Linked DNA regions of Homo sapiens: all the other regions are linked to region 4. The links are contacts of gene promoters, found by promoter capture Hi-C in blood cells and fetal thymus (Javierre and others, 2016). All regions are on one chromosome and are shown on one strand. The core of a region is centred on a gene start or on the middle of the fragment in contact, and the rest is flanking DNA. Distances in the headings are between cores, read along the strand shown.

What was found. The method cuts DNA at HindIII sites, captures the fragments that hold promoters and counts their contacts. A CHiCAGO score of 5 or more calls a contact.
Region 1: a fragment that was not itself captured here is called in contact with the fragment with the promoter of ZRANB2-AS1 in region 4 in 1 of 17 cell types (total CD4 T cells); the score reaches 5.3 in total CD4 T cells.
Region 2: a fragment that was not itself captured here is called in contact with the fragment with the promoter of ZRANB2-AS1 in region 4 in 1 of 17 cell types (total CD8 T cells); the score reaches 5.8 in total CD8 T cells.
Region 3: a contact is called between a fragment that was not itself captured here and the fragment with the promoter of ZRANB2-AS1 in region 4, in 1 of 17 cell types (total CD8 T cells). The highest score is 7.2, in total CD8 T cells.
Region 5: a fragment that was not itself captured here is called in contact with the fragment with the promoter of ZRANB2-AS1 in region 4 in 2 of 17 cell types (megakaryocytes and erythroblasts); the score reaches 8.3 in megakaryocytes.

Annotation. Positions count from the first base shown.
Region 1 is chr1:70,341,707-70,347,171 of GRCh38, forward strand. All of the region lies in intron 1 of ANKRD13C (ankyrin repeat domain 13C), which reads right to left. Among named protein-coding and RNA genes, the nearest start is that of ANKRD13C, 10 kb to the right of the region's middle. The HindIII fragment of the contact is 983 bases long and covers 3,024-4,006 here.
Region 2 is chr1:70,297,283-70,303,395 of GRCh38, forward strand. ANKRD13C (ankyrin repeat domain 13C) reads right to left here. Exons shown (of 13, transcript NM_030816.5): 7 at 3,482-3,626. Among named protein-coding and RNA genes, the nearest start is that of ANKRD13C, 54 kb to the right of the region's middle. The HindIII fragment of the contact is 177 bases long and covers 3,391-3,567 here.
Region 3 is chr1:70,277,520-70,283,452 of GRCh38, forward strand. The region is part of intron 9 of ANKRD13C (ankyrin repeat domain 13C); the gene reads right to left. Among named protein-coding and RNA genes, the nearest start is that of SRSF11, 59 kb to the left of the region's middle. The HindIII fragment of the contact is 3,300 bases long and covers 2,636-5,933 here.
Region 4 is chr1:71,042,969-71,048,483 of GRCh38, forward strand. It overlaps ZRANB2-AS1 (ZRANB2 antisense RNA 1), which reads left to right and starts at 3,538. Exons shown (of 3, transcript NR_038420.1): 1 at 3,538-4,621. PTGER3 (prostaglandin E receptor 3) reads right to left here and starts at 4,848. Exons shown (of 4, transcript NM_198719.2): 1 at 3,713-4,848. The coding sequence starts at 4,609. RefSeq lists an enhancer at 4,262-4,845. The HindIII fragment of the contact is 6,286 bases long and covers 410-5,515 here.
Region 5 is chr1:70,491,912-70,498,050 of GRCh38, forward strand. No RefSeq gene overlaps it. Among named protein-coding and RNA genes, the nearest start is that of CTH, 84 kb to the left of the region's middle. The HindIII fragment of the contact is 6,948 bases long and covers 1,011-6,139 here.

The DNA of each region.
Region 1 (5,465 bases), core at 2,265-4,764, 700 kb before region 4:
GCTTGTCTTTCTTACCTTCTTCTAGATTGACTATTTTTATTATTCCATTTTGTTTTTTAATCTATCTGGAAGGTATACATATTTTATTTTACTGTAGCAGGAAAGTGGCATGATACAAATTACATTTTAAAATCATTCTTGTCCTCATATAGAGAATGGATTGGAGGGGGACATAGGGAGACCAGTTATGAGTCTGGTGCAATATTCCCAGGAAAAAAATATAATTAAAATTGGTCAGTCTCAATGTGGTGGCAGAGACAGAAGTAGACTGGTTCAAAATAACTTGCTAATTACATGTGTATGGGGAGTAAGAAGTGGTGAAACAAAGAATGATCTCAGTGACTGGCTTGAGCAACTAGATAGTTAAGGATGTAATTTAAAAGAATGGGCGGCCAGGTGAAAGGGGAGGAGGCAGAAAATGATAACTCCATTTTGGACAAGTTAATTTTAAAATAACTCTGAGATTCCAAGTGAAGACAAATACAAAATCTAGACCTCAAAGGAGAAGTATAGGCTGGAGATATACATTTGGCAGTAAAAAAGAAGAGACAGGCCTGGAGCAGTGGCTCATGCATGTAATCCCAGCACTTTAGGAGGCAGAAGTGGGCAGATCATGAGGTCAGGAGTTCGAGATCAGCCTGACCAACATGTTGAAACCCCATTTCTACTAAAAATACAAAAATTAGCCGGGCATGGTGGCGCATGCCTATAATCCCAGCTACTCAGGAGGCTGAGGCAGGAGAATCGCTTGAACCCGGGAGGCAGAAGTTGCAGTGAGCTGAGATCGCCCATTGCACTCCAGCCTGGGTGACAGAGCGAGACTCCAACTCGGTGGAGGGGGGAATAAAAAAAAGAAGAGACGTTTACAATCAAATGTATAAATTCCTGAATATCCCTTTTTGTATCAATAGTGGAAGAGGTAGCAATAGTGGAAGAGGTAGCAATAGTTCCCTTTCTTCACTTCTCTATCTTTCAGGGAGAAAAAGAAGTACCATGCTCCAAATGGTAAAGAAAGAAACACACACACACAATAACACACACACACACACACACACACACACACACAAAATAACACTTGCTGCTGCCCAGGAGGGGAACTAGATAGGTAGAGATGGGTGAAAGGGAAACTTTTAACAATGTATCCTTTTATTTTTAAGAATTCTAAAGCATGTGAATGTTATATCTATTCAACAAATTTTTAAATTTAAGTTAAGGAGAGTCCACCAGAGTCTAGACAGATAACCTAGGTGAAGAAGTCAAGGTGGCCGTGCTCCTGGATAATTATCCTTTGTTTTCTTAACCCCTCAAGAACATAGAGAAAAGAGGGGGTAAAAGCATCAGTACCTACTGAAGTTACAAATGAAACCTTCCATTACAAGTCCAAATTTTAATCATATTATCACAAGATTTATGAACTAGAAGTCAGTTCAACAATTCAATCCCTCTTTTTAAAGATAAGAATATAAACAGAAATACCTTCTACTATGATGCCAAATATTATGCTCTGCTAATTCAATATTTTAAATGGCAAAATCATCATCACGATCACCTGGCTAACAGTGAATTTACTGTATTCACCAACTATATCATAAAACTAAGTGCTCCAACATCCTAGTTACTTCCATCTACTATCTCCTCAGTTTTCTATGTCCTCAACCTGCTGCTTAAGCTAATTTATTACACAAAGGATAATAAAAACATAAAATAAACTTTGCTATCAACTTTTCATAATGTACTTTTTAAATCTGAAATTGAACACCTTCATTCTAACTTGGTAAACTAAATCGAATTGTTTTGTCGAACAAGTGAAAAACATCCAGTAATATTAAGACCACTTTAGCTTTTAGGTAGGTTTGTTTGTTTGTGACAAAGTCTCTCTATTGCCCAGGGTGGAGTGCAGTGATGCCATCTCGGCTCACTGCAGCCTCTACCTCCTGTGCCTCAGCCTCCTGACTAGCTGGGATTATAGGCGTGCACCACCATGCCCGACTAATTTTTGTATTTTTAGTAGGGATGGAGTTTAGCAAAACTATGTTGGCCAGGCAGGTCTCAAATTCCTAGCCTCAAGTGATCCGCCCACCTCAGCCTCCCAAAGTGCTGGGATTACAGGCATGAGCCACCGCACCAGGCTAACTTTAGTTTTAAAATATGCAAAAAACACTGGCCGGTACAGTGGCTGCAGCCTGTATTCCCAGCAGTTTGGAACACTGAGGCGGGAGGATTGCTTGAGCCCAAGGAATTCAACACCAGTCCATGCAACATGGGGAGATCTTGTCTCTACAAACAATAATTTTTAAAAATTAGCTGGGGGCTGGGCATGGTGGCTCACGCCTATAATTCCAGCACTTTCAGAGGCCGAGGCGGATAGATCACCTGAGGTCAGGAGTTCAAGACCAGCCTGACAAACAAGGTGAAACCCCATCTCTACTAAAAATACAAAAATCAGCCAGGTGTGGTGGCAGGCGCCTGTAGTCCCAGCTATTCAGGAGGCTGAGACACGAGAATTGCTTAAACCGGGAGGTGGAGGTTGCAGTGAGCCGAGATCATGCCACTGCACTCAGCCTGGGCAACAGAGCAAGATTCCATCTCAAAAAAAAAAAAAAAAAATTAGCTGGGCATGGTAGTGTGGTATGCCTGTGGTCCCATCTACTCAGGAGGGTGAGGTGGGAGGATTGCCTGAGTGTCGGAGGTCAAGGCTGCAGAGTCGTGGTCACACTATTGCACTCCAGCCAGGATGACAAAGCGAGACCCTATCTCAAAAAAAAAAATGAATAAATGCAAATAATCAATAGAATGGCTGGCATTTAATGGGTATCTATTAAATGTGTTGGGCACTATGCTGTATATTTCTGATACCTTATTCATTTAATTTGCTCAATAATCCTATGAAACAAATATTATTCCTATTTCTCAAGAAGAAAAATAGACCTAATAATAGTTATTTTCCAAAATTACATACCTAGAAACTGGGACAGTTCATGACACAAAAATTTATATTCTTTTTACTGTATTAACAGTTTTCAAGCTTTTGAATCTCAGGACTCCTTTTATACTTCTAAAAATTATTAAGGATCACAAAACCTTTTGTATAGATATATCTATTGATATTTATCATATTAGAAATTAAGATTTTTAAAATTTTAAATGTATTAATTTTAGAACTATAATACTCACTACGTGTTAATATAAAATTTCTTATGAAAAAATTAACTACATTTTCCAAAACAAATAAGTGACATGAGCAGTCTATTTAAATTATTTAATTAAAAATAAAAATAAATTATGTTTCTTTAATGTCTGGCTTAACAGAAGACAGCAGCTAGGTTTTTATATATGCTTTGCACAAATTCACAGTTGATAAGAGTGGGAGTATTTTAATAACCTTTTCTGATATTTTTCTTTGCTACACACCAAAATTCACTTCTTAAAAGTTGGTTGCACAGCTGGGCGCGGTGGCTCACTCCTGTAATCCCAATACTTTGGGAGGACGAGGCAAGCAGATCACCTGAGGTAGGGAGTTTGAGACCAGCCTGACCAATATGGAGAAACCCCGTCTCTACTAAAAATACAAAATTAGCCGGGCGTGGTGGTACATGCCTGAAATCCCAGCTACTCGGGAGGCTGAAGCAGGAGAATCGCTTGAACCCAGGAGGCAGAGGTTGCGGTGAGCCGAAATCGCACCATTGCACTCCAGCCTGAGCAAGAAGAGCAATATTCCGTCTCAAAAAAAAAAAAAGATTGCAATGTGAAATCTAAAATCATATAAATAAGTTTTTTGTACTGTATTACACTGAAATATATTGGTCTGTCTTGTGCTTTGAATGGATCTTGTACTGATGCATGATTCTGTAACACCATGCATTGATATTTGAAAAACACCGGTTGACCAGGTTATGGAAATCTTCAAATGTTGACATATTTCACTGTACAATAGCAAAAAAACCGTATTTGGCAATATCACCTCCAATCTGACTAGAACAGTCTTTTATGTACTGGGAACCCATCAAGCTTACCATGGTAGAGATAAGTTCTTCAAATTTCTACTTTTCATTTGAAAGCTTCAATTTTTTCATTCACAACAAATAACTGTCACTTGTTTTCCTTGAAGTCATAGGTTTACTTCATTATTTTCCAAAAAATATTTGCCATATATTCAAACTGTGATTAACTATAGTTTGTCTGTAAACTGTTCTTTAAAGTAAAAATGGTGTTCCATGAAAAAGGTGGCTAGCTCAGCTTACACTCAAATACCCCTCAAACTTTTTTCTAATACTTTTTTTTTCTATTTTTCTTTTCTTTCTTTTTAATAGAGACAGGGTCTCACTATGTTGACCAGGGTGGTCTCGAACTCCTGACCTCAAGTGATCCTCCCATCTCGTCCTCCCAAAGTGCTGGGATTACAGGTGTGAGCCACTGTGCCTGGCTTCCCCACTCAGTTTAACAATGCTTTCCCTTATTTACCCAGTCAGTATGCAGCAGAGGAGCAAAAGGCACAATCCCAATTATGTCACAAATACCAAAAAAGCATGTACTCAAGATTAGGATGTAATAAAATTCATAATTTTTACAGTTTCATCAAAAACATTAAGTAAAATGGCCTTGTTTTAATTTTTAAAAATTAAAAATTAATTTGCATGGCAGTGAACAATACAATGACTACCAGCCCAGTTTGCTACTTTGACTTGCACTAAGATGTCAACAATTTTACTCACCAGTGCTTTTGAACCACCAATGAAAATGTCTGCAGTGAAAAAGGCAAGCAATGACTAGATATTATAAAAATAGTTGCGACTTTGTGCACCCCCTAACTATAGAACAAAGCAGGAAATTGCAAGTACTAGTACAGAGCTCCAGGTTCTACAGACTCCTTCAAGTCTGATCCAAGCAAGCAGTAAAAGGGGATAATTTCTGCATTCTCTCTCAAAAATGCTAATATACTACTAAAATACACACACCATATCATCTGACATCAAATCCAGCATCAACTTCTATCAGCTCTATCTTCTTATCACCCTCACAGTTTCCCCCAACTATAGTAGCTTTTTATACTGACCCTTGCCTCACACAACAGCCCGAGTGAGCCTTTTAAAATCAAATTGTGTCGGGCGGGCGCGGTGGCTCACGCCTGTAATCCCAGCATTTTGGGAGGTCCAGGCGGGTGGATCACGAGGTCAGGAGATCGAGACCATCCTGGCTAACATGGTGAAACCCCGTCTCTACTAAAAAATACAAAAAACTAGCCGGGCGTGGTGGCGGGCGCCTGTAGTCCCAGCTACTCGGGAGGCTGAGGCAGGAGAATGGTGTGAACCGGGGAGGCGGAGCTTGCAGTGAGCCGAGATCGCGCCACTGCACTCCAGCCTTGGTGACAGAGCGAGGCTCCGTCTCAAAAAAAAAAAAAAAAAAAAAAAAAAGGCAGTTCATAGAGAAGCATGGTCTCAAACTCAGATCTGATCAATACAGAAAAG
Region 2 (6,113 bases), core at 2,229-4,728, 750 kb before region 4:
TCTGATTTTTTTTTTTTTTTTTTTTTTTTGAGACAGAGTCCCGCTTTGTCGCCCAGGCTGGAGTGCAGTGGCACAATCTCAGCTCACTGCAAGCTCCTCCTCCCGGGTTCACACCATTCTCCTGCCTCAGCCTCCTGAGTAGCTGGGACTACAGGCACCCGCCCCCATGCCCGGCTAATTTTTTTATTTTTAGTAGAGACGGGGTTTCACCATGTTAGCCAGGATGGTCTCGATCTCCTGACCTCGTGATCCGCCCGCCTCGGCCTCCCAAAGCGCTGGGATTACAGGCATGAGCCACCGTGCCCAGCCCATATAGTCCCTTCCTGAATTTCCAAAAACAATACCATTGGCGACCGGGCTAGGTGGCTCATGCCTGTAATCCCAGCACTTTGGGAGGCCAAGGCAGGTGGATCACGAGGTCAGAAGACAGAAACCATTCTGGCTAACATGGTGAAACCCCGTCTCTACTAAAAAAAAAAAATTAGCCGGGCATGGTGGCACGCGCCTGTAGTCCCAGCTACTCGGGAGGCTAAGGCAGGAGAATCACTTGAACCCGGGAGGTGGAGGTTGCGGTGAGCTGAGATCAATCACGCCACTGCACTCCAGCCTGGAGACAGAGAGAGACTCCATCTCAAAAAAAAAAAAAAACAAAGAACAAACAAACAAAAAAATAGCAATGGCTTGGGCCTGGGACAGTACCATTTCCTCTACCCCTACAAGTAAAGAATGCAAAATCTTGGTGTTACTGCTAAAGCCATAATAGGTGAAAATGTATTCCTGGTAACCCAAATTAATTCTGAACACAATATTCTTTAAAAAAAAGTTAGGTTGCAGTAGTTAAACAGAACTGTTAAACACTATACTTCAAATATATTATGAATCAAGTAGAATTTTATATATTAGCTTGGAAACTGAACACTGTATAACCCATTGTCTATGAGCAAATTTGCCTTACATTTCAAACATCCTATTTTCAATAAACTTTTGGAACAGAATTCTTATATAAATCAGAGACTATCTCTTAACCACATCACTGAAAAAGATCTGCTGTTTTAATTAATTACATTGCTTCAACATTTAATGAAGTTATTACTTATACATACATACATATTAGGATAAACAACAAGTATTCTCTGCCCTAAGGAATACTGCTCAAAATTTATCTTTCCTGTATTGTAGGCATTATAAAATACATAATACATATATGTATGTATACATACATACCTTAATACTAGTACATACATACCTTAATACCTTAAAACTGGTACCCTTAATACCAGTTCTTTGGTAATACTATGACATCCACAAATACTTATGGACTACTAGCCTTAACTTCTAGCTTCTCTTTCAAGACCCTATTTCCAATTCACTTATTGCCTAGTTGGCTATCCTGTTGTCATTTCATAAGTAAGAGGTCAAATTATTTAATAAATATCTGAGAGGCTCACATATGAGTAAGCAAACTATAATCAGCTGCCTGTTTTTATGAATAAAATGATAATGGAATATACTCATTTATTTACATATTGTCTGTGGCTGCTTTTAACAACAGCAGAGTTGAGTAGTTGTGACAGAGGCCATATGGCCCACAAATATATTTTAATATCTAAAAATATTTATTATCTCTTCCTTCACAGAAAGAGTTTACCAACCTATAGCGTAGAATGTACTGATGCTGTATTAGATAACAGGGAATACAACAAAAAGAACCCCACGCCCTTGAGGAGCTTAGACCAATAGAAGGGAAAAAAGCCATGTCAGTAAATGTAACATTAGAAGCTTTATGGTTCCAGATTTAATAGGAACATAAGGACAACAAAAGTCATTTGGTGGGAGAGAAAGTAACACCAAGTGCATGCCCTACAGGTGTGAGGGTGCAAAAAGAAAAGCATTCCAGGAAGTGGAAAGAACATGAACAAAGGAATAAAGGCCCAAATAGCCTGGCACATCTGACAAACTGCCAAGAGTGCAGTATGAGGGTATCTAAAATAGTAAGGTAAGAAAAAGGCTAGAAAGGTGAGCAAAACTCAGGTGACAAAAGGAACCATGCCGTGCTAAGGAGATTAGATTTCACTCTTTAGGTAATGGGGAACTTTTTAAGTATCTCTAAGTAACTAAGGTTTCATAAATGTGTTTCTAAAGTTTAATGTATCTCCAACATGTGGGATAATTTAGAAGCAGATGAGAAGGGAGCCAGGAAGATCATTTATAAGACTTTCCAATGGTCCAGTTGAGAAATAATGAATGTTTAAATTACAGTAGTGACAGTGTGAATAAAAGAGGAATAATAATGAGACATTAAGGAGAAAGAAATGACCAGATATGTGCTCTGATGAGAAAACACAGAGTACAAGAAAAGATATCAAAAATAACTCCTAGGTTTCTAACTGAATAGAGAATGACATCATTCTTCAAAAGAGGAAAAACAGGAAAAAGAGCAGGTTTGGAGGAAAAGTAGCAAGGTTAGTTTTAAATAAGGTGAATTTTGAGGTACCTGGGAGACACACATGATATCCATTAGGCATTTAAACAGATAAGCCTCTACTCAGAACTGTATGGACACAAACATATATTTGTAAATCATCAACCTATAGGACTGTGGGAATGGAAGGGATTATTCTGGCAGTTTGTAAAAATGAGAACCACATCAAGGGCATATCAATGGTTTTTTAACACAAAGATATGGCATGAGAGAAGGAAAATCATGTCGTACTTGAAGAGGGAAAGGACAGAGAAAGGAAAGGTAGCCAAAGAGTTAGGAAAAGTAAGACTGCAGACAGAGCCAAAAGAAGTATTCATATTAAGGAGATAAAATAAAGATGGTCAACAACATTAAAAGAAGGTAAGATAAAAAGATAATACATGGTAAAGGTCCAGCACAGGTTCAACAAATGAAAACTATAAATGAGAATGAAGAGAAGTTGGAGTTCATTGATCTAGGAGATAATCAGTTGAATTCTCAGCAGGCTCAATGGACCGGTCAAGATGGAGACCAGAGGATAGAAATATAAAAAATGAAAATAGGCCAGGCGCAGTGGCTCACGCCTGTAATCCCAGCTCTTTGGGAGGCCGAGGTGGGTGCATCATTTGAGGTCAGGAGTTTGAGACCAACCTAGCCAACATGGTGAAACCAAGCCTCTACTAAAAATACAAAAATTAGCCGGGCTTGGTGGCGGGCGCCTGTAGTCTCAGCTACCCTGAAGGCTGAGGCTGAAGAATTGCTTGAACCTGGGAGGCGGAGGTTGCAGTGAGCCTAGATCACGCCACTGCATTTCAGCCTGGGTGACAGAGCGAGACTCCAGTCTCAAAAAAAAGAAAAAGAAAAAAGAAAAGAAAGCTAGTGGTCAGGAAACTATAGCTTTAGGAACAAACCATCTCAATTATACCTTAAGCTTTTAAGCAAATTATACTGAGGTTTTGCTAAAAACCTATACTTTTTTTTTAATGATTTAAAGGAATATTGATAAGACAACATGCTCACCTCATGATGTATTCGCTGATAAACTTTTTGTTCATTGTCTAATACTACAAAAGATTCAGAGGGCGCCGCATCCCCATTGAAAATGAAGCTTAGATCCCCTCGTTGGCACTTCATGTCAGTAAAGTCTATGAGAGTTGTGTCAAGCCTGTGAAACATGGGTAGATGATAAACTCTGACAAATATAATTTTGATAAAACTTCACTAATAATTAAATAAGCTGTTCCTTTTAAACTCAAACCAAGATGCTAATACCATATTGCAAAGTCAAATTTATAGATAAAAACAAATTTATAGATAAAAACTAAATTTAAAATATTCTATTAAAAAACAAAACTACTTAAAGATATAATCCATTTTAGCTATATTTCACTTTTCTGAATATACATATATATTTTCTGAATATATATACACACACATATATATATATATATACACATACACACACACATATATATATACACACACATATTTCATTGACCCAGAAAAAAAGATGTTTCCCCATATTTGGGGTATTTCCCTTTCTGCTCCCTTGTTTCCTACCATTTCCCTTACTGTAGCTACTCAATAAAAGTGAACGGGGAAGGAAGAAAAGGAACACAGACCTGTCTGACATTATTCGATCCCTTTAAGACCAGGTTGCTAGCTCAGCAGAGTATTTAAGACCAGACAGCAATGGATGGACCACATTCTTGGAATTGAGAACTCCTCTTCTGATATACACCCGTAACCTTATGCCTAACCATCTGATACCAAACCTTGCTTTATCCTTCAACTTGATAAACCATTTAAATTCTTGGCCTTTGTATTTGACTTCTCAGATTTGGACTAATACTCTCTTTCCCAACCAATATCTCCACACCCTGGAAACCTTACAGATCATTCTGTATCTAATACTCATGGATTCACACATTTGTGTGTTTACTGTTCTCTTTGGTAACCTGGACCTGTCATGGTCTAGCCTAATGCGCTGGTCTCAAACAGTATTCCACAAAGCACTACTTGCCGAAATTAGGAAAAATACTGAAAATAAAAAGTTTACAATACACTGACGTGCTTCAGTCTTGCACATGGCTTTATAAATCACCAGATCAGGATCACCCCAGCTAATGGCTGCTCAAAACACACAGTCCTAAAGCCAAGAAACTGGTTGGCCCTGCTGTCAAAGGATGCTGATCACATCCCCAGGAAGCTCCTTTAAGGCTCCGTGAAAAATCCACCCTGGCTACTGAATTTCTAATGCAACTGTAAGAATTCATTACTCTGTAGGTTTTTCAGTTCTCATCACAGACAAGGCAAAGTGAGTTGGTATTCTTGGTTTCCCTAGACAGGAAAAACAGAAATAAAACATGCCTCACATGCTGCATGAAAATAATAACTAGGGTTACATAGAATTTATCATCAAAATTAATAAATCTAAGAATGAAAGTGACACTACTGACAATTCTGCCAGGAAAACAGGGGTGAGCCAGAGCAAAGAGGGAAGTATGGTTGCCTTATGTATCAAGAAGCCCTAAAAAAGTAACTCATCAACTCACACAGGGGCGGCGGGGGGGCGGGGGGCTGCCTGTTGCTTTATAGCTGAATTCTAGCTTTTAGTCCACTCCCAGAAGCTAGAATTCAGCTTTACTATTAAATAACACCTATCATTGCTTGAGCATGTGTCCTAAAAGAAAATAGTATTGGCCGGGCGCGGTGGCTCACGCCTGTAATCCCAGCACTTTGGGAGGCCAAGGCGGGCGGATCACGAGGTCAGGAGATCGAGACCATCCCGGCTAAAACGGTGAAACCCCGTCTCTACTAAAAATACAAAAAATTAGCCGGGCGTAGTGGCGGGCGCCTGTAGTCCCAGCTACTTGGGAGGCTGAGGCGGGAGAATGGCGTGAACCCGGGAGGCGGAGCTTGCAGTGAGCCGAGATCCCGCCACTGCACTCCAGCCTGGGCGACAGAGCGAGACTCCGTCTCAAAAAAAAAAAAAAAAAAAAAAAAAAAAAAGAAAATAGTATTAAAAGGGACTCTTCCCCTATCTCTATAAGATGTGGGCTCCTGATAATACCAAAAAGGAACAGATCATTTTATATGTAAGTGCACTATTTGGGCTCCAAGCTTCAGCTATCAGGGAATGTTATGCTCTACATAAAAGAAGAAATGGGCTAAAACAGTCTTCTGCCTCCATTCCCTGCTTGCCCATCATAGGTGAAAGTGGTAGTGGGTTGCCAGGAGTGGAGATGAAAAGGTGAGTAAAGAGATGCACAGAAAGACAGATAAAGAAAGACAAAGACAGACTGACATGGTGACCTTTGAGATTTTAGATCTAGCGATATGTAAAATTAGTTATAGAAACTTCCCAGTTATATAAATTAATACAGCCTATTTTTATTTCATTCGTGTTTCTATAATTTTGCAATAAAAAGGGTAATACATTTTCTGTATATCCCTGACATATTAGATGACCTGGTAAGCTGCATCACATATGCCTCAGTAAATAATGTTAATTATCACGATAACATTTTAAAGTCCTCACTAGTCCTTGGCTTTAAGCCTATGAACCTAAATATTTTTAATTTTTCCCATGTAATTAGCCATGAAGAACAATAAGTTCTTTATACAAATGCAAAGATTTGAATAGAAAGTA
Region 3 (5,933 bases), core at 3,036-5,535, 760 kb before region 4:
ATACAGACATGAACAGTTAACCAGAAATATAAAAGAGCATATTATTAAAGGCCAAATGAGATTATAGAAAATAGAAAATATATGAGAAAAGATAGCAATCTTCTGTGGGTAAAGATCAAGACTATGCAATTGGACTTCAGATTTAAATGAAGATGAAACAGAGTGTTTTTAAAACAGAGAAAATTAAAGGTAAAAAACACAAGAAGACTGATTTAAACTCAGATGGGAAGTTCAAAACGGAGATCAACAGTAGATGGTAAAAATCGCAAAGGTCAGATTTTAAAACTTTCACCCTATCTTTGCTAAATATGAATTTCAATCACTATAAGATGAACTGGCAATAAGGAACTAAACTCTGGAGCAGAAAAGGAAATTGGAAATTCCTGGGCCAGGTGCAGTGGCTCATGCCTGTAATCCCAATACTTCGGGAGACAAAGACAGGAGAATCACTTGAGCCCATGAGTTTGAGACCAGCCTAGGCAACATAATGAGGCTCTGTTTCTTAAAAAAAAAAAAAAAATTAGCTGAGTGTGGTGGTGCGTGCCTGTGGTCTCAGCTGCTTGAAAAGCTGAGGCGGGAGGATCACTTGAGACCAGGAAGTTGATGCTGCAGTAAGCCATGATTATGCCACTGCACTCCAGCCTGGGTAACAAAGTAAGACCCTGCCTCACAGAAAAAAAAAAAAAGAACTGGCCAGGCGTGGTGGCTCATGCCTGTAATCCTAGCACTTCGGGAGGTCAAGGCAGGTGGATCACTTGAGGTGAGGGGTTCAAGACCAGCCTGGCCTATATGGTGAAACCCCATCTCTACTAAAAATACAAAAATTAGCCAGGCGTAGTGGCTCGCACCTGTAATCCTAGCCACTCAGGAAGCTGAGGCAGGAGAATCACCTGAACCCAGGAGGCAGAGATTGCAGTGACCTGAGATCACACCACTGCACTCCATGACCCAAGATCACACCACTGCACTCCAGCCTGGGAAACAGAGCGACTCTATGTCTCAAGAAAACAAAACAAAACAAAAACCTCATAAATTAAAAAAAAATTTTTTTTCAATTGCTAATGAAAACCTAACAGGACTATGGAGCAAAAAGACAATAAGTGAAAGACTAATATGAATAATAAGATGTTAATAACATTGAGAGGGTCTCATTCAAGAAATGTGGTTTTACATATAATTAGTGTAAGATGTTAATGAGCCATATATTAGAGTTGTTAAAATCAAGGATTGCTAAGACACAAAATTGAGTTAGAATCCCAGCTCCAATACCTGGTAGTTGTGTGAATTTGGGCAAGTTACTTTCTATTATGTCAACTTAACTCACTTGCAAAATGGGAATTGGGCCACTAACTCATAGTTAAAAATTAATGGAGATAACGTATATAAAAAACTTAGTGCAGGTCAGGTGTGGTGCCTCATGCCTATAATCCTGGCACTTTGGGAGGCCAAGGCAGGTTGATCCCTTGAGCTCAGGAGTTTGAGACTAGCCTGGGCAGCATGGCAAAACCCCATCTCTACAAAAAATACAAAAAAAAAAAGTAGCCAGGCATGGTGGCACACATCTGTGGTCCCAGCTACTTGAAGGGCCAAGGTGGGAGGATTCCTTGAGCCCAGGACATGGAGGCTGCAGTGAGCCGAGATCATGCCACTGCACTCCGGCCTACAGGACAGAACATGACTCTGTCTCAAAAGAAATTAAAAAAGAGAGAGAGAGAGGGAAGCAGTAAATGGAGGAAAAGCTTTTTCTCTACCCTCCGTTTTCTGCCGAACTACAGAGTATAAATTTTGCTTCACTGGAGATAACTCTATACTCTTACTAGCCCAGTGACAGCACCAGAGGAATTTGCAAACAAACCTTACTCCTTTCCTGTCCTTGGAAACCTAAAATCACTTTCATTTGTCCTGTCATTTCTCTATAAATTTATTGTTCTTTGTTGAAGATGCTATATAAGTAGAGTTCTAAGCCACTATTTTGAGCTACTTTTTTTTTTTTTTTTTTTTTTTGAGACATAGTCTTGCTCTGTTACCCAGGCTGGAGTGCAGTGGCACAATCTCGGTTCACTGCAACCTCCGCCTCCCAGGTTCAAGCAATATTTCTGCCTCAGCCTCCTGAGTTGGGATTACAGGTGTGCATCATCAAGCCCAGCTAATTTTTGTATTTTTAATAGAGATGGGGTTTCACCATGTTGGCTGGGCTGGTCTCAAACTCCTGGCCTCAAGTGATCTGCCCAACTCAGCCTCCCAAAGTGCTGGGATTACAGGCATAAGCCACTGTGATCAGCCCTTGAGTTACTTTTCCTTGGGGTTTCTTGTGTGGTGTGCGGCACGCATTAATAAACTTGTTTGCTTTTCCCTTATAAATCTGTCTTTTGGTACGAGAGTCCATCTCAACTAAGAACTAAGTTTGGAAGAGGTAAAGTTTAGTTTCCCTTATGGTATAATGGAGGCCAAAAGAAAAGACTGTTTCAATATCACACTACAGAGACTTTGAAGAGAAAGAAGCCTGAAAAAGCCATAAATTTTGTTGGTTAGAAGTCATTGATGATCTCTGAGTAGCAGCCGAGGGATGTGGAAAGAAAGGAAACAGAGTTTTTTAGTATCAGGCAAGATGAAAGACAATGTTCTTTCCTTGAGAAGCTTATCAAGAGACACAAAAAGTAAATACTTATAATTGAGGGTGACAGGGGCTATGATATAATTGAGGGTGACAGGGGCTACAGAATGATATAAACATGCACAGAAGAGGTTTATGACAGACTAGGGTAGCCAAAAGACGTGGACTGGTTGACTCCTGAATTGAGGAGTCTAAAAAAGAACAAAAGAACTGGTTGAAGGAACTGGGGAAAGCAGAATGGTGAGAGAAAGCATGACATACTGGGAAATTGCAAGTGTAGTGTGTCTAGTTGTATGAGTAGTATACATGAAGATTAGTAGTAAGAGAAAAGTGGCCAGACACAGAAGAGAAAAAGTAGCCTGAAAGGGTTTTACATATGAAGTAGATCACATTTTACTCAGGAAGCAATGGACAAATATTTTGAGCAATACAATATAGTAGCTAAAACACCAACTGTGGAGCCAGAGTGATCCAATTCTGGCTTCGACAATGACTAGCTGACTTCAAACAAATTACTCAACCTCTTTTGCCTCAGTTCTGTCAACTATATAACCTCAGAGGGTTTACTGTGATGATAAAAATGGGCTGTTAAATGTAAAGTGCTTAAAATAGTGCCTCACGCATAGCAAGTACTGTATACATTTTAGTTACTGAGCATAGCCATTACATGATTCAATCTATTTCAGGGTGATTACTCTGGTGGCAGTGTATTTAGGAAGCTATCTCAGTAATCCAAATGAGAAATGATAAGGGCATGTTGTTTAAAAATGGAAGGACAGAAAATAGACTAAATAGACTCAAGAGATCCTTAGGATTTTGTGATTGATCAGATATAGAGATAACAGGAAAGCTAAGAAGTCTAAGAAGAAATTTCAGGTTGCCAGCTGGGGTAAATAAGGAGATAATGGTGTTACTACCTAAGACAGAGAAAAGAGGAAGGAGGGAAGAAAGCATTATCTGATTTAGACACACTAAATTTTAGACATCTATGTTTATCCAAGTAGAGGTAGGCAAAAGCACTATAGATGTGGTGATATGACGGAAGAATAGAGTTAAAGGTATATATCTGGTTGACAGTTACCAGTGTTTATGTACTCACTGATGAGATGTCAGAGATTGCTAGTTGTCTCCCCAGTATCTGTTCTCCCATTAGTCTTTGTGAAAGAACCTCTCTTCCAAATTTTTGGATGAGCACATGACTTCCTAGAATAGACTCCTTTTCTAGAAATCCTTGCAGCTAGGTGTTATCATGTGACTAAATTCTTTTTTTTTTTTTTTTTTTTTTTTGAGACAGGGTCTTGCTCTGTCACCTACACTGGAGTGCAGTAACTCAATCACACCAAACTGCAGCCATGACCTCCTGGACTCAAGTGATCCTCCCACCCCAGCCTCCTGAGGAGCTGGGACTACAGATGCATGCCACCATGTTCAGCTTGTTTTTACTTTTTTTTTGTAGAGACAGAGTCTCACTATGTTGCCCAGGCTGGTCTTGAACTCCTGAGCTCAAGCAATCCTCCCACCTTGGCCTCCCAAAGTGCTGGGATTACAGGCATGAGTCACCATGCCCGGGTTAAATTCTAACCAATGGAATGTGAGCAGAGTGATGTGTACAACTTCAGAATGGGCTCTCAAACAGAATAGGAATGCCTTCTCCTTTCTAATTAGCACTTTGGGAGGCCAAGGCGGGCAGATCACCTGAGGTCAGGAGTTCGACACCAGCCTGGCCAACATGGTGAAACCCCGTCTCTACTAACTACTCAAGAGGCTGAGGCAGGAGAATCGCTTGAACCCAGGAGGCAGAGGTTGCAGTGAGCTGAGGTCATGCCACTGCACTCCAGTATGGGCAACAGAGGGAGACTCCATCTCAAAAAAAAGAATTACTATTCCTGCTGGCTGGAATATGAAACTGGTACATATCATCTTTTTTTTTTTTTTTTTTGAGATGGAGTCTCGCTCTGTCACCCAGGCTGGAGTGTAGTAGCGCGATCTCGGCTCACTGCAAGCTCTGCCTCCCAGGTTCATGCCATTCTCCTGCCTCAGCCTCCTGACTAGCTGGGACTACAGGTGTCCACCACCACGCCCGGCTAATTTTTTGTATTTTTTAGTAGGGACGGGGTTTCACCATGTTAGCCAGGCTGGTCTCGATCTCCTGACCTCGTGATTTGCCCGCCTCAGCCTCCCAAAGTGCTGGGATTACAGACATGAGACACCGCGCCCGGCAATATAAATCATCTTATACCATGTGGATGCAAGGCCACATCCTAGGAATGGCAGAGAAGACAAAAGAAAAAAAGTTGTCTGGGATTAACCCACAGAGCAGAGAAAAACCACACAAACTCAGATTTTTACATGAGAGAAAAATAATCTTTTATCTTGTTTAAGTCACTGTTCTTTTGAGATTTCTTATAAGCAGCCAAACTTACATCATAACCAATACCAAATTCCAAATTTACAGTGGGAGATTATACATAATACTATGACATGTAGCAATGGCTTATCAGTAGAATGACGAAGAGGCTTAAAAGCTAGTTAATGACCCTCACAAATGCTGTGGCAAAACATTAGGTAAAATAGTATCTAGTGATATGCTAGAAAGCAGAGAGACATGCGTTTAATAGAACCTTTAATTTTAGGGGAAACCGCTGGAAACGTTTAAGATTGCTGCTCCAACCTAGAACCACAGCAAAGACTAATCCCATACCCACTGAAATCTCTATCTATTAATATTTTAAATATTATATATAACATTTTCATGGTAAAGACACATTTGTCATATGATTAGATAACATGGCATGTCACATCATTATATTTTTTCAGGTAATAACTTTTCCAAGTAAGTTTCTACCATTTCCAAATAAATTCTTTCTAAACAGTACATTATACATTCCCCATCTTAGTAAAGACTGTAATCAATGTAATTTAACCTTTTATTGAGCACTTTATCTCATCATTATAAATATCAATTATCATATTCTAAAAATGTCTTTCTAGTTTAAGTTTAAATTAGTCCTTTATTTTTTTCAAGGAATCCCAAATAGATTCAAAGTCCTTTATTATATACTGACACTTCTTGCTGAATCCTTCAGTGCCTCCTCTATACTGATGCCATGGCTATCTAATGAAACAGGAAGACATAAAGGTTGGTGCAATACCAGATAACTCTTTAAGTTATTTTGCCAAATCAATTGGCTCTGTAATTGAAATGCCTTCAAGCCTTTCCCTCATAATTAAATGTAAAACTTCTGATGACTATTTTCCTTGAAGCATATAGGAAATACTTTATTTCTAGGTTTGTTATTATTCTAATATTTTATATGGC
Region 4 (5,515 bases), core at 2,288-4,787:
ATAGCTGGCTTTGTATTTACTGTTTTTGAGATAGCTTACAGTATTAGCCACATTCTACCTGTTTGGGAGTGCCAAGTTATAAAAGTACAAAATGTACTCATAGCTTCCTTTGAACAAAATCCTAAGGTTATTCCCATTTCTGGAAATTTAGCTATCAGGTCAAACAACTGAGCTATGGTGAGCATCATTCATAAAATATAAAACATAAAATAATGATAAAAATCAAATAGATTGCATTGCTGGATGAACTGGCTGATTGCAACAGAATGACAATGTGATGCCTTACATAAGCAGTAACTAAAAACTGTAGGTCATCTATCATGGTGACATAATTTCCCACTGTACTCTCTTAATTTCACATTTTATATTGTATTTTGCAAAATTTCTGAGAAAAAGAAAAAGGAAACAAAGCTTTTGTTTAAGGATACATAAACCTCTATTTAAGTATTTATGTAGTGTGAACTTGTAGCTGTTGGGACATTTTCTTATTATGGTGTTTCTGTACTACCAAGTTTTCCTGCAGTAACAACTGAATATTTATTATAGTCATGATAGTCTTCCAGGATATACTCAGGGTCCTTTCAAGTAAGAAGTTTGGACAATTAGAATAGTATCCTACACCCAACTTAACGAATGCTAGCAGGAAACCTATATTACACTCATAGTTAGAAAAAACAGCGTTAATCTCTCATTTTAACACTAATATGCTGAAAATTCAATTCACTAAATTCTAGTGTTTTTATTCTTATAATTCTCTATTAAGAAAGCAGCTTTGCCAGTTTCTTTTCTTTGTAGTAATTCCAACTTTGTACAGTAAATCTTTTTGAAGATATTTGGAGTTTTTTTTTTGTTTTTTGTTTTTTTTTTAGAGGGAGTCCTGCTCTGTCACCCGTGCTGGAGTGCAGTGGCGTGATCTCGGCTCACAGCAACCTCTGTCTCCCTAGCCTAAGTAATTCTCCTGCATCAGCCTCCCGAGTAACTGAGATTACAGGCGCATGCCACCATGCCCCGCTAATTTTTGTATTTTTAGTAGAGGCGGGGTTTGGCCATGTTGGAATGCTGGTCTCGAACTGCTGACCTCAAATGATCCACTCACCTCGGCCTCCCAAAGTGCTGGGATTACAGGCGTGAGCCACTGCGCCCAGCCGATGGAACCATTTTCTTTAAAAAGTTCTCATTTCTCCTAGGCCGGGCACGGTGGCTCATGCCTGTAATCCCAGCACTTTGGGTGGCCGAGGTGGGCGGATCACCTCAGGTCAGGAGTTCGAGACCAGCCTGGCCAACATGGTGAAACCCCATCTCTACTAAAAATACAAAAATTAGCCAGGTGTGGTGGCGGGCGCCTGTAATCCTAGTGACTCCAAAGGCTGAGGCAGTAGAATCACTTGCACCTGGGAGGTGGAGGCTGCAGAGAGCTGAGATCTCACCACTGCACTCCAGCCTGGAGTTTTTTTTTTTGAGACAGAGTCTCAAAAAAAAAAAAAATTCTCCTTTTTGATATGATCACATGTTTAATTTATTTTGTTTAATGTTTTTATAATTGAATTAATAAAGTACCCAGTAAAATGCTATAAATCAATAAGTATTATCCAAATGAAAATAAATTGAAATTAAGTAAGACTAGTTTCAAATGCAGTCTTTCTTGAAAGAGTGAGTTTGGCCATCCTAAATTACAGTTTTCAAGATTGATCTACTTTCTTTCTGAGGCCACCATACTTTTGGTACTAGAATTAAAGTGTCTAAATCAAAAACACACTACATGGCTTCGCTTTGACTTAAAAACAAAATGCACAAACAATAAATTATAAGTCTGATTAACTGTATGGGTATTTTGTTCAATTGATTTAACTGCATTTTTTTTCCCTAGGATATAAATCATGTGATACAGCAAACTCAAAGATGTGGGACTCAAATGACACTTGTGAAAAACTGATACCCTGTTTGCCTTTAAAGTTATATTAATTACCACACTTTAGTAAAGTGTTTACTATTTAGAACTCTTTCTTCCTTCCTAGTTGGCCACCTGTACACTCCATTCCTCAGCCATAAAAGTAAATACTGTATATCTAAAACTGGTGCTGGTTTTGATAAGCCATAGTGATGACATCAGCCTGAGTTCCAACTCCTGGAATAAAGAACTGTGACCATACAGCGACTTGTGGGCAGTTAGGTCTCAGCATAACACTCCTTGTCCCCTCATGTCACTGATTTGGAGCCAAGGTTTGTGCTCCAATCTACCAAACCAGGTTAAAGAAATTACATTTCTATTTTCAAATGCAAGGGATTTAAAAGTATACATGGCGCACAAAAAACTCAACGTACTTAATGCCTAATGCCACTGAACTGTACACATAATAATGGTTAAAATACTGAATTGTATGTAATATATTTTACCATAATTAGGAAAGAAAAAAAACTGCGTTCACGTGTTTCAAAGGTTTTCCACAACTGTATAATACATATAGTTGGTTATACCTTTGTAACAGTGACCATATCGCTCTTTCTGCAACATCTATTAACCCAGACACCCCAGGGCCTAAGTAAGCATCCATTCTTCAGGAATTAGTAAACAGCACTTACACACGGACATTTCTAGCTAAAAGTAACACAGACAAAAAAACCTCAAAAATATCACGTAAGGGCAGGTGTTAGGCAAAGAGCCTCTGCAAACATCCCTTGCTCCTCTGCATTGCTCTGGTGTGAGGAGCTAGGACATGGAGAAACCTCTACCTCCTATCTCAGGATTAGCGAACCCTGCTTGAGTGCTACAAGGGTAAGTAAATGCTGGCCTGAAGAAGCTGCTGAGCTTCCGGATCCCACTGACTGTCGTTCGGGCACTTCCTAGAGGGTCAAGCACCATGGCGAAAGGCTGAGGAGGCAACTCGTATCTTTCATTCTCCTGCCTCATCAAGAATGAACCTTGAAGGCACCCATAGGTCGCGCAGTCTTTCAGAAGCTGCAGGAGGGCTGTGACTGTATGGGGTTGCAGACTGAAAATCTTATTAACGTGAAAGAGGAATTTGAAATTAAAAAAAAAAAACCCGGCCGGGCGCGGTGGCTCACGCTTGTAATCCCAGCACTTTGGGAGGCCGAGGCGGGTGGATCACGAGGTCAGGAGATCGAGACCACGGTGAAACCCCGTCTCTACTAAAAATAAAAAAAAAAAATTAGCCGGGCGTGGTGGCGGGCGCCTGTAGTCCCAGCTACTCGGAGAGGCTGAGGCAGGAGAATGGCGTGAACCCGGGAGGCGGAGCTTGCAGTGAGCCGAGGCTGCGCCACTGTACTCCAGCCTGGGTGACAGAGCGAGACTCCGTCTCAAAAAAAAAAAAAAAAAAAAACCCCACAATATCAGGCTACAGTTATCATAGCAATTCTGCTTTTAATGCACTCAGGACAAACTTCTAGCTCTGCATATATGTCATTTCAATGACACATCCTGTCTCCTACCCGACTAGAATGTGAGCAGCCCTGTGATCTCTATGTGCTCATAAACAGTGCCTAATGCGAATCCTGGCTCTTGGAAGGCGCTCAGCTAGTAAGTGAGGAGCTCAGCTCTGAAGCTGTAACCAAGACCGCGCGGGCAGGAGGAAAGGACACTTCAGCGCTCTGCGGTTGCAAACACACCCCTGCGGGTGCTGCCACTTAGCAAAGTCTTAGGTTCCCGCTTACTCGCACACGCATCCTGACTTCCCCCAACCCTGGAACTACCTACCAGGAGCGGAGACCAGCAGACCGACAGCACGCACATGATCCCCATAAGCTGAATGGCCGTCTCGGTCGTGATGCGGCCCCACTGGGCACTGGACTGAGATGCCGTGGCCTTGGCCCGGCAGCGGGACACCAGGGCCTTAATGGTGGCCAGGTTGCAGGAAAAGGTGACTGTCAGCGCCAAGAGCCCCAGGAAGGCAAAGGCAGAGGCGAAGAAAAGGTTGCCCCAGTTATGCGAAGAGCTAGTCCCGTTGCCCCCTCGCCCGGTGCTGATGAAGCACCACGTCCCGGGCCACTGGACGGTGTACTGGCCCACGCCCAGCACCGGCAGCAGGGCGAAGGCGAGCACGGCCAGCCACACGCCGAGCAGCACAGCGCGGGTGGCACGCGTCTTCATGTGGCTCGCATACCAGTGCGGCGCCCTGATGGCCAGCGCCCGCTCGACGGCCATGGCGCTGGCGATGAACAACGAGGAGAGCCCGAAAACAGTCATGGTCAGCCCGAAAAAGGTGCAGAGCCGCCCCGACGGGTCGATGTGCTCCCAACGCTGCTTGGACAGGTACACGACGATGACGACCGGGGTGGTGAGAAGCTGCCCGACCAGGTCGGTGAGCGCCAGCCAGCCGATGCACAGCAGGAAGGACTTCTTGCGCTTGCTCTCCCGGCGCCGGTAGCTGCGCGACACGAGCAGCATGGCCAGTGCGTTGCCCACGAAACCAGTGAGCAGCATGGTGATCGGGAAGGCCACGGACACCGATCCGCAATCCTCGCCAGACCCTGGAGGGCGCGTGAGGTTGCCCCGCGCCTCGGCGGAACGCTCGGGCGCCCACATGCCTGTGTAGGAGTGGTTGAGGCGGGTGCAGAAGGGGGCATCCCCTCCGTAGCCCCGGGTCTCCTTCATGTTGGCTTCGAGGTGAGGAGGGGATGGCGTCCAGAGAGCCGCAGCGGGAGGGGGCAGACGCGGCGCGGGCGGCGGCGGAGGTCGGCGTTTACCGCGGCTGGGGCTGGGCTGCCCCCCATGGTGCGGGGCGCAGCCGCCGCCCTACTCCGCTGCTGGGACCGCGGCCGCGGCGGCGCCAGGGCTCACTGGCCCGGGAGGGAGCCACGCCTTCCTCTCTGGGAAACCTCTGGTGGCGAGGCGCGCGGAGGTGCCGAGTCCCCTTTATAAGGCCGAGGGGGCGGGGCGCCCGTGGGTGTGGACAGAACCGAGGTGGGAGGAGGGTGCAAAGCAACTGAGCGCCTCTCTTGGCTGTTGCCTATCCTGATCGCCTGGGTTGGGAAGCCCCAGACGGTCTCCTCTGAAACGCCCTGCTCCTGGCCGGACCGGGAGCCCACTGGGGTCTCCTCCAGTTCTCCGCTAAAGTGTCGGTGGACGGCAAGCAGCTAATAAGTAGCACTGGACTTGCGGACCCCAGGCAAACTGCCGAGGCGCACCTGAGCGCTCGTCCTCCTGCTTCTTCAACCACAAACGCTCCTACAGGGACGGGATCCTTCTCCTGAAGTCCTTTAGTAACTCTGGTAAAGTGAAAATCGCCTGTCCTTAAGCAATCCACACAAGCCTTTGCATAGCTGATCGTTAACTTTTTTCCTTTCTGCTTTGTGACTCTAGAGTGATTATAAAAAGGCCAAGGTGTCCTGTCCCCTGGGGTGCCGCTGAAAACTATAAAATTACTAGACAGTGCCTGTAGACTTAAGGGAATAGACACAGGGAAACAAATACATCGGATGGTTGAATTCCAAGACCAAGAAATCCCAACTACTACCCCTCGCCTAATCCTGCCCGCTCCCCTCCCCACCACCCAACAAA
Region 5 (6,139 bases), core at 3,235-5,734, 550 kb before region 4:
CTCATTCACCATGATCAAGTGAGATTCATCCAAGTGGTGCAAGGAGGGCTCAACATATGCAAATCAATAAATGTGATACATTCTATTAACAGAGTAAGTACAAAAGCTATGTGAGCATTCAATAGATACTCAAAAAGCATTGAATAAAGTTTAACATCCCTTCATGATAAAAACTCTCAACAAATTGGGTATAGAAGGAACATACCTCAACAAGTTAAAGGCCATCTATTAAAAACCCACATCTACTACACTGAATGGGGAAAATTTAAAGCCTTTTCACTAAGATCTGGAATAAGACAAGGATGCCCACTTTCACCCCTTTTTTTCAACATAGTACTGAAAGTCCTAGCCAGAGCAATCAGGCAAGAGAAAGAAATAAAGGGCATTCGAATTGGAAAGAAAGAAGTCAAATTATCCTTATTTGCAGATGACATAATCTTATATTTAGAAAAAACAAAATACTCTACCAAAAAACTCTTAGAATTGACAAACCAATTAAGTAAAGTTGCAGAATACAAAGAAATGTACAAAAATCAGTAGGATTTTTGTAGGCTAACAGGAATCAATATTAAAAAATCAAGAAAGCAATCCTATTTACAATAGCTATTAAAAATCCCTATGAATCAATTAACCAAAGAAGTGCAGGATCTCCATAAAAGAGAAAGCATACAACAGTAATGAAAAACATTGAGGATACCAAAAAATGGAAAGATACTCCATGTTCATGGATTGGAAGAATTAATATTGTTAGAATGTCTTTACTATCCAAAGCGATCTACAGATTCAAGACAATCCCTATCAAAGTACCAATGACATTCTCACAAAAATAGAAAAAGAGATTGGTTCATGTGACACCATTTAACAAATAGTAGCGTAAATTGTCAATTTAAAATTTGAGATGTGAGAACTGCAAAAGGGAGAAAATTATTTTCTAACCTATAAATGAAATAGAAATGCTACATTTTACCATGGCATGTCACTAGCACAATTTTCAGTTATTACTACACATAAGCTTTATCAAAAAGTTTCTCATATTAAATTAACAAATATTTTTTGGTACCTTGGTATAAGGCAGGCACACCAACTTAATTCTGCCAAACATTTAATCCATTTGCCTTCGTCTGCTCAAGTTGTGTGTGTTTGTGTGTTGTTAAAAAGTGATCTCATTTTAGTTAACTGGATAGAGATTTTATTTCAAAATGCTTATCGTGAGAATTCCGCATTTGAAATACATATATTTTTCTATTAAGTTAAATGAGCAATCAACTTCCAGACTGAAGTTATTTTTATACATAATAAGTAGTTAGCAATATGACTTGATTTCTAAAGCCTTGAAAAAGCTGCCTTTTCCTAAACACCTCCCATGTCAAATGCTACCTGAAAGAACCAATATTACAACCTCTTAATTCCTTCCTCCTTCACTTCCCCACCCCTTCTTTCTCCCTTCTCCTTTCTTTTTCCTCCCACTGTCTCTCCCTCTTCCCTTGTATTCCACTTTTTCTTTTATAAATATTTACTGAATGCCTTTTATAATCCGGCAACGTAAGAGTTGGGGAGCTCTTTGTATTGTAATAAAGTACATACAGTTCTCTTTCCTAAGAAGCCCAGTGCCTAGTCAGGCAAAAAGATGTCTAACAACTTGTAAGAAAGATTGCATTGCCATAATGAAGGTGTGAATAAAGTATTGTAGGGAGCCAGAGAAAGTTTCATAGAAAGGAGACTATTTGAACTAAATCTTGATTAATAATTAAGCATTAAGGGTGAAAAAGACATTAAGTATTGCCCTCTCAACATGCAAATACTTCTGAGATTTCAAAATTTCAGAAAACATTATTATTATTATTATTATTTTTTAGTAGAGACAGAGTCTTGTTTTGTTGACCAGACCGGTCCCAAACTCCTGGGCTCAAGTGGTCCTCCTGCCTTGACCTCTCCCAATGCTGAGATTATAGGCATGAGCCACTGTGCCCAGCCAGAAAACATTTATTATGCACATAATTATCTAAGGTACTATGTCAGAAAATGGGGCATTAAGAAAAAAATAAGACTTGGTTCTTTTCCTTGAGGATCATAGTTTCCTAGGAGGAAAGAGGTTTCTAAAATATGTATTCTTAGGCTGGGTGCGGTGGCTCACGCCTGTAATCCCAGCACTTTGGGAGGCCGAGAAGGGTGGATCACGAGGTCAGGATATCAAGACCATTCTGCCCAACATGGTGAAACCCTGTCTCTACCACAAAATACAAAAATTAGCCAGGTGTGGCAGCATGCATCTGTAGTCCCAGCTACTCGCGAGGCTGAGGCAGGAGAATTGCTTGAACCCGGGAGGCGCAGGCTGCAGTGAGTCGAGATTGTGCCACTGCACTCCAGCCTGGGCGACAGTGTGAGACTAAGTCTCAAAAAAAAAAAAAAAAAAGGTATTCTTAGTATATTGCAAGGACAGACACTTTGCTTTTATGGGAGTAGGGGTAGAGGCAGGAAGGTTAGGGGTAGGGTTTCAAACAAAATTAGTTCACGGGAATTGAGCCTATAAGATGACAAATGTTACAGAGAGAAAAACTACCAAGTGTTATTCATGCTGAGATGGGTGTTTCTGGGTCCTGGGAATCTCCTCTCACTCAGTTTGCCTCTAATTCTGTACCTGACAATTCTCACACTGCTGAGACTCCACTGGAGCAGGGCAGAACCAGCCACTTACAGATGAGTTAGATGTAAGATACCTCCAGAGACTCCAGACTACGTACAGGTGCCTTCAGAGAGCTGGGAGCTCCTTCTATAGGAGCCAAGCTGACGCAAGACTAGCAACTTTGGTAAAAAGAGCTAGTCATTACCCTCTTAATGTGAATTCATTTATGTATTGATTTGCTCCATGTCCTGGGCATCAAAATCCAGGCATTTAGAAAAAGAAGGATCTCTAAAAAGGGGTGAGCAGTGAGAGAAGACTGTAGAAAGAAGGAAGGAATAATAGAGAAACTTCACCCACTTCTTTGATAAGTAGGACCAGACTCCATGAGCCATTGATTACTTCTTGTGTCAGACTGGCACATATCAAGGAATTGAGTTTAGGGCCCAGCTGTGACCCCTGCAGGAAAATTTTTATTTGTACTTGGAAAATTATTTGTTTTTTATGTTTATTTGCTTTTAAGTACAGTTGTCCCTTGATATATGCAGGGGATTTGTTCCAGGCCCCCATCCATACCAAAATCCTTGCATACTCAAGCCCCACAGTGGGTCCTGCAGAACCTGAGTATATACAAACAGTTGGCCCTCCATATAGGTAGCTTTTGCATTTCTTTAATACTGGATTTTCAATCTAAGTTTGGTTGAAAAATCTCAGTATAAGTGGACATACACAGTCCAAATCTGTGTTGTTGAAGAGTCAACTGTTTAATGAAATTGATATGGTATAACTTTAGGGACTTTGATTCTCAACTACTCTAATGATACAAACTAGGTAATTTAACTCTGTGCACCTGCATTCAAGCTAATTCTTGGCTCTAAACTGTGGAATATAGGAGCACATGTTCTCAGGATCTCCCGAGGGCTGTGTCACAGAAATTTATATATATATAAAACAAGAAAGCTGGCACCTGAGTACGATAATTAAATTGGCAGAGATATTGAAATATGATCCCTGGAGGTTATTGATTATATGGCTCCCAGTAGTCTAATCTTTGGAGTTAAATCAACACATCCTGGTTTTAATGTAGGCCATGAATTGGAGCCTGCTTCTGCTTCATGACACTTAGAACAATGATTCTAAATATCTTTCAAGTTCACAAAGCTAGAATTTTTGAATTTTTTAATGCTAGATTTCTGTGGCATACTTAATGGAATTAATTTACCTCCATTCACAAATGATTGCTCTCTTTTGATTTGCTCTAATCTTGCATTGCTGTTTGATTAGAATGCTCATTTCCCTTATCTGGCTCACTTATATATGCAAGAGGCAAATTACTTCATGTTTCAATAAATAAATAATTATATTTTGGTCTCAGTTTGGGGTTAAGTTGTGTCTGTGTTACTCTTTTGTAAGCTGGATATTTCCTTATACCATTTTTATGGCCTATTTAGCTCAGAGTTTTGGCTCATAGATATTGCTGTAATATAGAGCTCTTCAGTTGTAGTGAAAGTGAAGTTTACACATTAAATAAAATAAGAAACTTTAAGATTTGTGCTACTTTGGCATGTAAAGTCTCACTTATAAACACATTATCTCATTTGTCAGGTGTTCATTGGCCAAATCAAATGTTTTCATTTGGGGCACTTGAAAGGATAGTATAATGCAGTTTCCCACCTCAAAATATTTTTTTATGTAATAAAGGAGATAAGAAAGTTAGCAAAATGAACGTGCTATAAAGGATGGTAAATGAGTCACAAGAATTCATAGGAGAGCAATTTCACTCTTGGGTAGTATCAGGCAGGTGGCTAGGCCCCTGCCACAGTTGGAGACCTTGAGCACCTTTCCCCATGGCTGGCCTTTACTCACACCAAGGGCTAGATGCCTTTGTACAGGGCACAACCTGCACAACTGTACCCTATAGTCTTGGCTTTGGGTAAGTATGACTTTATGTAAACAGCAGTTTTGAGCTGAGCAAAAGGGCTATAAAAACTATCCCTCCTTTTAGTAATCCAGATGGTGTGTTTATGATACGAAAGAGTAACACTTCAAGCATAGAAAAGACATTATTTACATTTTAGAAAATTAAAAATACTTTTGATAAAAGAACATTTTTAAGTAAGAGAAAATTAATGTGTTATTTTGTAAAAAGATGATAAGAGATCAAATTGCAGAGGTAGGATTAGTTCCATCTGATTCACAGAAACAACACTGCAATCAAATTCCCATTCGATAGCCACCACTGCTGCCAAAGCAAAGAGAAAACTTTTTCAGCTACCACTATATGAAAGGCTTTGAGAGATGTTCAGATTAAAGTAGTATATATTTGAGGACTCAAATATTAGTTAGGAATCTTTCAGATAACAGTTCTGAAATTGTAATTAAATTTGATTAGCACAGAGGAATTTGTCCTAATGAAAATGAAGTGTCTAGTGGGACCCATGGATAGAAATGCAGGTGCTACTCTGGAATAAATAGAAGGGACTTAAATATCCCAAAGTTATATCATCATCTCTCATCTCTGCTCACCTCTGTATATTTATTTTGTTCTCTTTTTGTTTCTAGTTCTCTGATCTAAAGACAAAAAAAAAATCCCCCTTTTCCTCTCCAACATCTCCTAAAATTTACTTATTACTGTGTCTGCCACTGGAGAGAAATTGGCTTTTATTCTCAGCTCCAGTTTCACAAATTACATGAAAAGGTCTGCTTGGTTCAGCAGGAGTCCGGCGTCTATCTCTGTGTAAGTAATTATAACCTAAGGGACAGTCATAGCATGTTAATGCAGTGATGTGGTGACAATGTGTAACAGTTGGCTCTTGGGGTGAGGAGAGAGGAGGTGCACCAATTTGCTAATTTGAGGTGTAAATATTCTCACGATGGCTGATTTCAAGAGACCAGTATGATATCACTGAATGTGGAGTTGGAAGAGGTGCTAACAATCAACTTTTGTAAGATAATATGAGGCAGCTCTGATAATGGCTGCTCCTGTAGTAACCATGTGGATGAGAGATCATTTCTTATGAAAGCAGGATACTTTGGGCAAAGAAATCAATGTGTCTAGCACAGCCTACGTGGTATAATAAATACTATAATTTCCCCTTCATGTGTTTTTACTCATTTTTAAAACTTAAGGTAATAGCATAATATATGACACAATATTGTTTTAGCTTACTGAATAGACATGTTAACTCTAAAGTTACTTTGAGATTTAATGCCACATGTGAAAATTGTGAGTTCGATATTTCCTGTTGAATTAAATTGATAAATTAACTCATGAGACTTGAATTATATGTGAAATAAGATGGAGAAAAATGTGTGTGTGTGTGTTTTTTTAATTACAGGAGTGATTGGAGTGGCACATAACATGGCAGAGCTGTTTCCCAAGAGAAAAATATCAGAACGAGTTCAAGACAGATGATGTTTCTCAGGCTGTTTGTTACAGGCTACAGGAAAGGACGTGTGTGGGAAACTCGGCTTTGGAAAGGCAAGTGAAGTATGAGGGGCAGAACTAGTGAGTTGGCT